Regions from separate parts of the Homo sapiens genome. Here region 2 is linked to region 1. The links are contacts of gene promoters, found by promoter capture Hi-C in blood cells and fetal thymus (Javierre and others, 2016). All regions are on one chromosome and are shown on one strand. The core of a region is centred on a gene start or on the middle of the fragment in contact, and the rest is flanking DNA. Distances in the headings are between cores, read along the strand shown.

The links. Contacts are between HindIII fragments. The CHiCAGO score rates a contact against its expected background, and 5 or more counts as called.
Region 2: a fragment that was not itself captured here is called in contact with the fragment with the promoter of TCTN1 in region 1 in 5 of 17 cell types (naive B cells, megakaryocytes, activated CD4 T cells and 2 more); the score reaches 6.9 in naive B cells.

What each region holds. Positions count from the first base shown.
Region 1 is chr12:110,612,680-110,617,816 of GRCh38, reverse strand. TCTN1 (tectonic family member 1) reads right to left here and starts at 3,688. Exons shown (of 15, transcript NM_001082538.3): 1 at 3,415-3,688. The coding sequence starts at 3,634. RefSeq lists an enhancer at 3,362-3,411. The HindIII fragment of the contact is 6,908 bases long and covers 577-5,137 here.
Region 2 is chr12:110,835,338-110,840,532 of GRCh38, reverse strand. No RefSeq gene overlaps it. Among named protein-coding and RNA genes, the nearest start is that of CCDC63, 9.1 kb to the left of the region's middle. The HindIII fragment of the contact is 6,129 bases long and covers 1-4,902 here.

The DNA of each region.
Region 1 (5,137 bases), core at 2,439-4,938:
ATACAAAAATTAGTCGGGCATGGTGGCACACACCCGTAGTCCCAGCTACTCAGGAGGCTGAGGCAGAAGAATAGCCTGAACCCAGGAGGCAGAGTTTGCAGTGAGCCGATATCGTGCCACTGCACTCCAGCCTGGGTGACAGGGCAAGATTCCATCTCAAAAAAAAAAAAAGAAAGAAAAAGAGAAAAGAAAAATGTATCCCATAGCTCACGCCTGTATCCTAGCACTCTGGAAGGCTGAGAAGAGTGGATCCCCTGAGGTTAGGAGTTTGAGACCAGCCTGGCCAACGTGGTAAAACCCCATCTCTACTAAAAATACCAAAAAAATTAGCCAGGCATGGTGGCGCGCGGCTGTAATCCCAGCTACTTGGGAGGCTGAGGCAGGAGAATCGCTTGAACCTGGGAGGTGGAGGTTGCAGTGAGCTGAGACTGCGCCACTGCATTCCAGCCTGGGCAATTAAAAAAAAAAAAATAGTACCCCGTAAAAGGTATAATGCACTCTGCAAAAAAAATGTGTGAGGTGAAGGGGAAGGTTTTGTTAATATGCCATGATTTCTTAGTCTAAGACACAAAAGCTTTCCCCCTAAAGTTTACAGTGCTTCTCTCTAGTTGAGAACTCTTCTATGTGCCTAGTAAAATGACACAACTTATGCACGCTAATGTAAAAAATTAAAAGTGCTTTAGGTTCCCTGTATGTTTAAAATTACTATCTTGCTTTGTTTTCAAAACTTAAAGCCCTTATAGGCAGCTGTAAGACTACTAAGGACGAAGCAATAGTGTTTAATAACTCCACTTAGGAAAAAGGTTTCTACCCAGGATGCGAGTGTACTTAATCATCCACCAAGTAGCTGTTGAGCCCCTGTCAGGTCTAAGCAGCACTCAGCTGCCCTTGCCTCCTATCGCATCTGCACACCTGGCTTGTAGAGCAGGGTACTAATGAACAGAGCCCAGATTCAAGATGAAGGGTTATCACTCTTCTCCACCAACACTGCCTGAAGCCACCTGCAATTTTCCATCCAGTTCTCCACTCACAGTCAGCCTCCTGCTCCGATATCTACAAGTTGCGTGTCCTAAAATTAGGCAAATAATTTATCCACCTGAAAAATGGGGATAACAGTACCCTCATCATGGGGTTGTTGTAAGGATTAAATGAGATACATCATAGGTGAAATGCTTAGCACAGTGCCTGCCACACAGTGAACAGTTAACAAATGAGTTATTACTGTCACAAGTCTAAAGAGAGGTCCTTTAAAAAGGTGAAGACAGGTGACTGGCAGAGTGCAGTGGCTCAAGCCTGTAATCCTAACACTATGGGAGGCCTAGGTGGGCAATCACTTGAGGCCAGGAGTTCAAGACCAGCCTGGGCAACATGGTGAAACCCCGTCCCTACAAAAAATTAGCCGGGCGTGGTGGCATGCAGCACCTGTAGTTCCAGCTACCCGGGAGTCTGAGGTGGGAAGATCACCTGAGCCTAGGAGGTCGAGGCTGCAGTGAGCTGTGATCATGCCACTATACTCCAGCCTGAGTGACAGAGTGAGACCCTGTGACCAAAAAAAAAAAAAATAAAGTGTGAGGACAAGCACAAATTCATCCCCTATACTGGAAAAACAGCCTTGAACACATGCTATAATAATGATGTTTCAAGCATAGCTTTATTTTGGAGAGAAAATGCATTAACAGATGGAGTACTTACATGAATAAAAGACAATCCAGTCCAAAAACTTTAGAGTTTCAGGCATTGAATACTTGGCTTTCTTCTGTCCCAGTTTATCACTGATTTAACTTCCCTACTAATTCATCAAATCAACAATTTAAATATAAAACAGAGCTCTGTTTATATATTAAAATAGCAAATATATTTCTCTGTACTTTTTCTTTCAGATTACTCGTAATTCAGAAAGGAGAGCTTTTGGAGAAATAAAGGTTCAGTAACCGCAGTTAAGTCCTAGAGTTCAAGATCTCAGCTGATGACTTTTTTACTTACTAATACTGAGCCTTAATCAATTTGAGAAAAGATCTTCTTAAGAAGGGATAGGCTGGGCACAGTTGTTTACACCTGTAATCCCAGCACTTTGGAAGGCCAAGGTGGGAGGATCACTTGAGCCCAGGAGTTTGAGATCAGCCTGAACAACATAGCGAGATCTCATCTCTACTAAAAATAAAAAAATAAAAAAAGCAAGCTGGGGGAGCACGCCTGTGGTTCCAGCTACTCTGGAGGCTGAGGCAGAAGGATCCCTTGAGCCCAGCAGATTGAGACTTAAGTGAGATATAATCACGCCACTGCACTCCAGCCTGGGTAACAGAGCGAGACCTTGTCTCAAAAACAAAAAAAGAATAAAAAAAGATTAAAAGTACTGCATATCTATTGGGGTTACTCTCAATTCACACAATCGGAAAATTTTAAAAACTTTTTTTGAGATCATGAACCACTTTAAGAATCGGCTGCTATGAACTCTCATCTCAGGAAAAGGCATATTCACAAAGTTTTGCACTCAATCTTAGCGGGTCACAGTCATTCAGTGAAGTCATCCATGTCAATTTTTTTTTTTGAGACAGTCTTGCTCTGTCGCCCAGTCTGGAGTGCAGTGGTAATTACTGCAACCTCTGCCTCCTGGGTTCAAGCGAGTCTCCTGCCTCAGCCTCCCGAGTAGCTAGGATTACACCATGCCCGGCTATTTTTTCTATTTTTAGTAGAGACTGGGTTTCGCCATTTTGACCAGACTGATCTTGAACTCCTACCTCAAGCAATCCACCCGAGTTGACCTCCCAAAGTGCTGGGATTACAGGCGTGAGCCACGGCGCCAGCCAAACGTCAAATTAGATTATAAAATATTTCCACTAAATGTGTAATTCTAGAATTAATCATTTTCTGAAAAAAATGTTAATTATCCCTACATATGACTCCTAAGAAGTGAGCATAACCCCTCCCTCAATAGCTTTCCACCTCCAATTCAACACAGGAGGAATCCTGGGTTTTTAGAATTCAGGTCAACAGAGAAGGGTCTTAACATAGTCACATTTAGTAAGATAGACCTTTGGCCTCTCTTTAAGTGAAAGTTCAGTGCAGCCAAGGCACTAATTTCCACCATTGTCTCGACTTAATTTCGTCTTGGGCTGCAAGAATTCATTATTGCTCTTTGCATCACTGTTGTCTGGGACCACTTCAAGTATTTTCAAAGGTTTGATACCGTTCCACTTAAACTCTGAGACCCGGTTTTCTCATTTACCTGACAGTGATAGTAACAGCTACTTCTCAGGGTTATTGTTTAGAGAATGGACGTTTATGGAACACTCAGCAGTGTCTGCACACAGTAAGTGCTCAATAAGAGTTAGCTATCATTATTACGTCCTCACCGGGGCTGTCCCCTTGAGGTTGGATCACTGTGGACTCCAGGAGCTGGCACATGGTACCCACCGTCCGTGACTGGGGTAGGCCTGGGGCCGGAGGAGGGCCCTGGAGCCCTGGGAGTCCCGGGGGGCCTGGTCGACGGGAAAGTTCCGAAGGTGGCCAGGGCTGCCTCGGTGGAGTTGAGGCCCTCTGTCGTCACCGCCGGGGTGGCATCGGTCTGGGCGCTCACGGAGGCCCAGCAGCCCAGGAGCACCACCAGGAGCGGCGGGAGACCTCGCGGCCTCATCTCCCAGGGAGTCCCAGCGAGGCCCGCGACATGGACAGCGCGTTGCCCGGCAACCGCGACAGCCAGGCGCGGGGCATCACGGGAAGGGGCTTGCGAAGCCGCGAGAAGCTGCCGGAGACTGACTGGGGCGAAGCCTGGATGAGGCAGGGGGCGGATCCCGGATGAGGCCGGAGGGCGGCGCCTGGGTGAGGCAGCGATGGCAGGCACAGGGGCGAGCACTAGTGAGCGGGTGTGAAGCTGGCGTAAACGAGGGGCGTGTAAATCCCGGCTGTGGTTTCCAACCGGTCCGCGGCGCTTGCTTAAAAAATGCAGATTTTCTGTAGTTCCAGCTACTCGGGAGGCTGAGGCAGAAGAATCGCTTGAACCCGGGAGGTGAAGGCTACAGAGAGCCGTGAGCGTGCCACTGCACTCCAGCCTGGGCGACAGTGTGACACTCTGTCTCAACCAAAAAAAAAAAAAAAAAAAAAAAAGACGGATTTCCAGGTACCACCTCAGGAGATCCTGAGTCAGTTAGTCTAGGGCAGGACCCAGGAATCAGTTTTTGGGGGATTTTTTTTGAGACAGGGTCTCACTCTGTCGCCCAGGCTGGAGTGCAGTAGCGCGATCTCGGCTCACTGCAGCCTCGACCTCTGGGACTCAAGCAATCCTCCCACTTCAGCCTCCTGAGTAGCTGGGAACTCAGGCGCGCGCCACCATACCCAGCTAATTTTTGTATTTTTTTTTTTTTTTTTTTTTTTTTGTAAAGACGAGGTCTCCCTCCGTCGCCCGGACTGGTATCGAACTCCTGGTTCAAGTGATCCACCTGCTCCAGCCTCCTGAGTCCTGAGTAGTTGGGATTACAGGCGTGAGCCACCACTCCCAGCCAGGAATAAATATTTTTAACAAATGTCCGGACGCAAGCAGATGAGTTGGACGGAAATTTAGGAAGCGCCGTCCCAACGCCACTAACGTGGGTGTTTGGAAGGAGCACAGGGATCTGTGAGATCACTGTCTCTGAATTTTCTCTATCCCAGACTCTGTCAACACTGGCTTCACCTTTTTATTTTAGCTGCATCTCACAAGGTTGCCAGATAACTTCTGTCTGCTGTATTGTGATAAAGGGGACAAATGAACACTTAATACCTTTTATTATTTTTTGTAGAGAGGGGGTCTCACTATGTTGATCAGGCTAGTCACAAACTCCTGGCCTCAAGTGATCCTCCCGCCTCAGCCTCCCAAAGAGCTAGGATTACAGGCATGAGCCACCACGCCAGGCCTAAGAACCTATTTAAAGACAAAAATCTTTTACAAAAATTAAGTAAAATAATTTAGACATCTTAAAGGGGAAAACAAAGCAAATCCACTGTAATGCTACAAAACGACCTGGAGACCCTACGATTTAGGAAACCCTCTCCATTCTGAATGGGCTTATTTAGGAGGTACCCAAGCCCAAGAATGTTGGCTGCACCTTTGACACTTAATCTCCATACAGTTCAGAAGTAGATGTCGAAGTACTTAGACGTG
Region 2 (5,195 bases), core at 589-3,088, 220 kb before region 1:
GAGTTCAAGACCAGCCTGGCCAACATGGTGAAACCCCATCTCTCCTAAAAATACAAATATGAGCTGGGTATGGTGGTGCGTGCCTGTAGTCCTAGCTTCTTGGGAGGCTGAGGCAGGAGAATCACTTGAACCCGGGCAGTGGAAGTTGCAGTGAGCTGAGATCATACCACTGCACTCCAGCCTAGGTAACAGAGAGAGATTCCATCTCAAAAAACAAACAAACAAAATAAGTAAAAACAGTACTAATCCATAAGATAAGTGCCACTCATTATCTCAGTGACAGACTTCTGACACAGGTGTAGATTCTTCAGAAAACATTTTGGCCTCACACAGCAAGAGTTATAAAAATGTTTATATTCTTCAACCCAGGAAACCTAAATGTGGAGATTCATCCTAAGAAAATAAGTCAAACTTGGGGATTTTTTTTTTTTTTGAGACAGAGTCTCCCTCTGTTGCTGAGGCTGGAGTGCAGTAGCACTATCTCGGCTCACTGCAACCTCCACCTCCCAGATTAAAGCGATTCTCCTGCCTCAGCCTCCCAAGTAGCTGGGACTACAGGTGTGCGCCACCACACCCAGATAATTTTTGCATTTTTTAATAGAGATGGGGTTTTGCTATGTTGGCTAGGCTGGTCTCGAACTTCTGACCTCACATGATCCACCTGCCTTGGCCTCCCAAACTCCTGGGAGTACAGGCATCAGCCACCATGCCCGGCCAAGTCAAAGATTTTTAAAATGCAAAGGCACTCTTGTGTTCTCCTCTCTCTGTGCCCTTTGATGGTATGGCAAGGCATTTAAAGATGTTTCTGACATTTTTTTAAATTCTAAGACGATGTTAACTATACGGTTATTGGCTAGAAATCCTGAGTTATCAACTGTACATATCCATAGTTTGTAAAAAAGAACAAAACAACCAAGACAAACTCTTGATGTTCCTCACTTGGCAATGAGGCCGTGGGGGAAGATGGCTTTCGGAGGAGTGGTAGCTCAGGGCGTGCACTGTGAGACAGGACCTGTTGACTCCGTGGTGAGCATCTATTTAGCTTCAGGTGGTCTTGTTTCTGTATAGAGTGACATAGCATTCTGCTGCCATTCTTAGCTGTGGACAAAGTGGGATCAGCTGGCATGAGAAGTGTTTGGGGGTTTTTTGGTTGTTTTTTGTTTTTTTGAGACAGAGTTTCGCTCTTGTTGCCCAGGCTGGAGTGCAATGGTGCGGTCTCAACTCACCCCAACCTCCGCCTCCCGGGTTCATGCGATTCTCCTACCTCAGCCTCTTGAGTAGCTGGGATTACAGGTGCCCACAACCACGCCTGGCTAATTTTTGTATTTTTAAGTAGAGACAGGGCTTCGCCATGTTGGCCAGGCCGGCCTCAAACTCCTGACCTCAGGTGATCCACCCGCCTCGGCCTCCTAAAAAAGTTCTGGGATTACAGGCGTGAGCCACCATGCCCAGCCTTTTTTTTTCTTTTCGAGAAAGGGTCTCCCTCTGTTACCTACACTGGAGTCCAGTGGTGCAGTCATAGCTTACTGCAGCCTTGACCTTCCAGCCTCAAGTGATCCTCCCACCTCAGCCTCCTGAGGAGCTGGAACTACACCACACCTGGCTTTTTTTTTTTTTTTTTTAACAGAGACAGGGTCTGTGTTGGCCAGGCTGGTCTTGAACCTCTGGCCTCAAATGATCCTCCCACCTCGGCCTCCCGAAGTGCTGGGATTATAGACATGAGCCACTGCACCTGGCCTAAATTTTGTTTTAAACAAACTACAGAACTCTTCCTTGTCAGCAAACAAAGAGCCACCCATCAGTGAAAGTTCAAGAATCAGGCCGGGCGCAGCGGCTCATGCCTATAATCCCAGCACTTTAGAAGGCTGAGGTAGGAAGATCACCTGAGGTCAGGAGTTCGAGACCAGCCTGGCCAACATGGCAAGCCCCATCTCTACTAAAAATACAAACAAAGGCTGGGCATGGTGGCTCACGCCTGTAATCCCAGCACTTTGGGAGGCCGAGGCAGGCGGATCACGAGATTGAGACCATCCTGGCTAACAAGGTGAAACCCCGCCTCTACTAAAAAAACAAAAAAAGCCAGGCTGAGGCAGGAGAATGGCGTGAACCCAGGAGGCAGAGTTTGCAGTGAGCCGAAATCCCACCACTGCACTCCAGCCTGGGCAACAGAGCTAGACTCCGTCTCAAAAAAAAAAAAAAAAAAATACAAAAAAAAATTAGCCGGGCGTTGTGGCAGGCACCTGTAATCCCAGCTACTCGGGAGGCTGGGGCAGGGGAATCACTAGAACCCAGGAGGGGGAGGTTGCAGTGAGCCAAGATCTTGCCACTGCACTCCAGCCTGGGCAACAAAGTGAGACTCCATGTCGAAAAAAAAGAAGAAGAAGAAGAAGAAGAATCTTCTTTATTTTGTATGTTTAGAATGCTGAGGTATTTTTCAAGTTACATTAACAGCATTGCACTTTTTAAAAAGAAAAAGAAAATAAGCCAAAGGCAAAAAAAATCCATATATACAAAGATGCCGATTGTAAAATCATCTCTACATAGGCAAGTGGAAATAAGTAAAAATCAACAAAATAAACACTTGGAATGAAAAAAGCCAAGCCCAGAAGAGCTCATACTGAAAAATGCCATTCATATAAAGCACAAAATTAGGGGAAGCTAACTTTGCCTTTAGAAGTCAGAATAGAGGTTATATGGTAGAGGGGGATAGAGAAGAAATAACTGGAAGGGAAATCAAGAGGCTTTCAGGGCTGCAGATATTCTGTTTCTTGATCTGGTTACATAATCAATTCATTTGTGAAAATTCATCCAGCCATACACTTCTGATATGGACCCCTTTATATGTGTGTATTGTACTCCGATACAAAAGTTTTCTAGACAGATGAACAAGAGGAGGATTTTTTTTTTTTTTCGAGATGGAGTCTTGCTCTGTCGCCCAGGCTGGAGTGCAGCGGCGCTATCTCTGTTCACTGCAACCTCCGCCTCCTGGGTTCATGACATTTTCCTGTCTCAGCCTCCCGAGTAGCTGGGACTACAGGTGCCCACCACCACGCCCAGCTAATTTTTTGTATTTTTAGTAGAGACAGGGTTTCACTGTGTTAGCCAGGATGGTCTCGATCTCCTGACCTTGTGATCTGCCCACCTCCGCCTCCCAAAGTGCTGGGATTACAAGTGTGAGCCACCACGCCATGGCCAAGAGGAGGATTTTTAAAGTAAATTATGGCTTATCTACTCATGGGACATTCTAGAGCATCGAAAAACGTAAAAATAACCACACCTGGCCTGGTGCAGTGGCTCGCACCTATAATCCTAGCACTTTGGGAGGTCAAGGTGGGAAGATCGCTTGAGTCCAGGAGTTAGAGACCAGCCTGGGCAACATAATGAGACCCCCATCTCTATTTAAAAATGTTTAATACAAAATAAAATAAAATACCCACATCTATTAAGCATATGCATGGTATGTACATATTGTTTTTCGTCGTCTAGTCCATCTTCTGTCCAATTCATTTGCCACTCTTCTCTTCCTGCTGTGTGTCTCAAGAAGTGGACAGTGTGATCCACATCACTCAAGGTCTCCCTTACCTTCTGTCTTCTGGTTGAATGTGGCCAATGACAGAGACCAGCAGGAGACCAGTCAGACAGGGTGAGAGAGATGTGAGACGTTTCTTTCAAAGTTCTTGCATACTTTGACATCCTGTCCCTGCTAGTCGCTACATCCCTATGTAGCTACAGCTTCTGTCTATATGGCCCCCCTCCCCAGCTCCAGCCCTCACTGGGCTTCCATCACATCAGTTCCTTCTCCTGCCTTGTCCTACCTTTAGTGTGGCAATGGCTTCCTTCTCTTGCTATTCTCTCAGTGCCTCAATCTCTCTTCTCTGTTCCCTTAACCCTGCCCACACTCTAAGAGAAGTCCTTCTTTAAAGTCTTTTGAACTGTCTGGGTTGGATTCAGTTTTCTTCGGAGCCCTGACCGTCACAGCCACTCCTCACCTTCCCATGTGACAAGTAAGTGACCTTCTTGGGTTCAATGCTGCAGAGACTGTGCCTTCAGCAGAGTGATGGGAACCAGCCCGGGAGTGAAGCCAGCATTAATTTCAATTTGGCACCAGGAGTTGTGCCAAATGCTTTCATCTTTTATTTTATTTCTATTTTTTTTTTATTTTTATTTTTTGAGACCAAGTCACTCTGTTGCCCAGGCTGAAGTGCAGTGGCACAATCTCGGCTCACTGCAACCTCCACCTCCCGGGTTCAAGCAATTCTCCTGCCTCGGCCTCCCTAGTCGCTGGGATTACAGGGTCATGCCACCACACCTGGCTAATGTTTGTATTTTTAGTAGAGTTGGGGTTCACCATGTTGGCCAGGCTGGTCTCGAACTCCTGACCTCAGGTGACCCACCCACCTCGGCCTCCCAAAGTGCTGGGATTACAGGCAGGAGCCACTGCACTTGGCCTCATCTTTTTCTTTTTCTTTTTTTTTTTTTTTCAAGAGAGGGTCTCAATCTGTCACCCAGGCTGGAGTGCAGTGGTGCAATCACGGCACAGCCTCAACCTCCTAGGCTCAAGTGATCCTCCTGCCTCAGCCTTGTTTCATCTTTTTGAAAAAGTAAAGAACTGAGCTCTCTCCCTCCCTCTATGTGCCACCTTCCTCTCCCTGTCATGGTCCCACTTTCCCCAGCTGAGGCTATGAACGGGTAGAGCTCACAGAGCTCGGGAGAGTGAGAGGAAAAGAGAAGATTGCAGGCCATGCTGTGACCCTGCAAGGCAGGGGAGAACAAATGGCTGCCCATCTGGAGGCAGCAGCAGAGACCTGGTGCCCCAAGCAGTATATGTACCCGTGTGCTGCCCAGCTGCTCCGAGCAAAGGTCATGTCTGTCTGGCCTCCTCCTCAAGGGAAAATGGAAGCTTCAGCATGACAGTTTGTCTCCTCAATATCTACTCTCTCCTTCCTCTCTTTTCTTACTTTTACTGGGAATGGCACATGCCCAGCTTTGAAAACCACATCTCAGTCAGGCATGGTGACTCATGCCTGTAAGCCCAGCACTTTGGCAGGCCAAGGTGGGTGGATCGCTTAAGGTCAGGAGTTCAAGACCAGCCTGGCCAACATGGTGAAACCCCATCTCTACTAAAAATACAAAAATTAGCCAGGCGTGGTGACAGGTGCCTGTAATCCCAACTACTTGGGAAGCTGAGGCAGGAG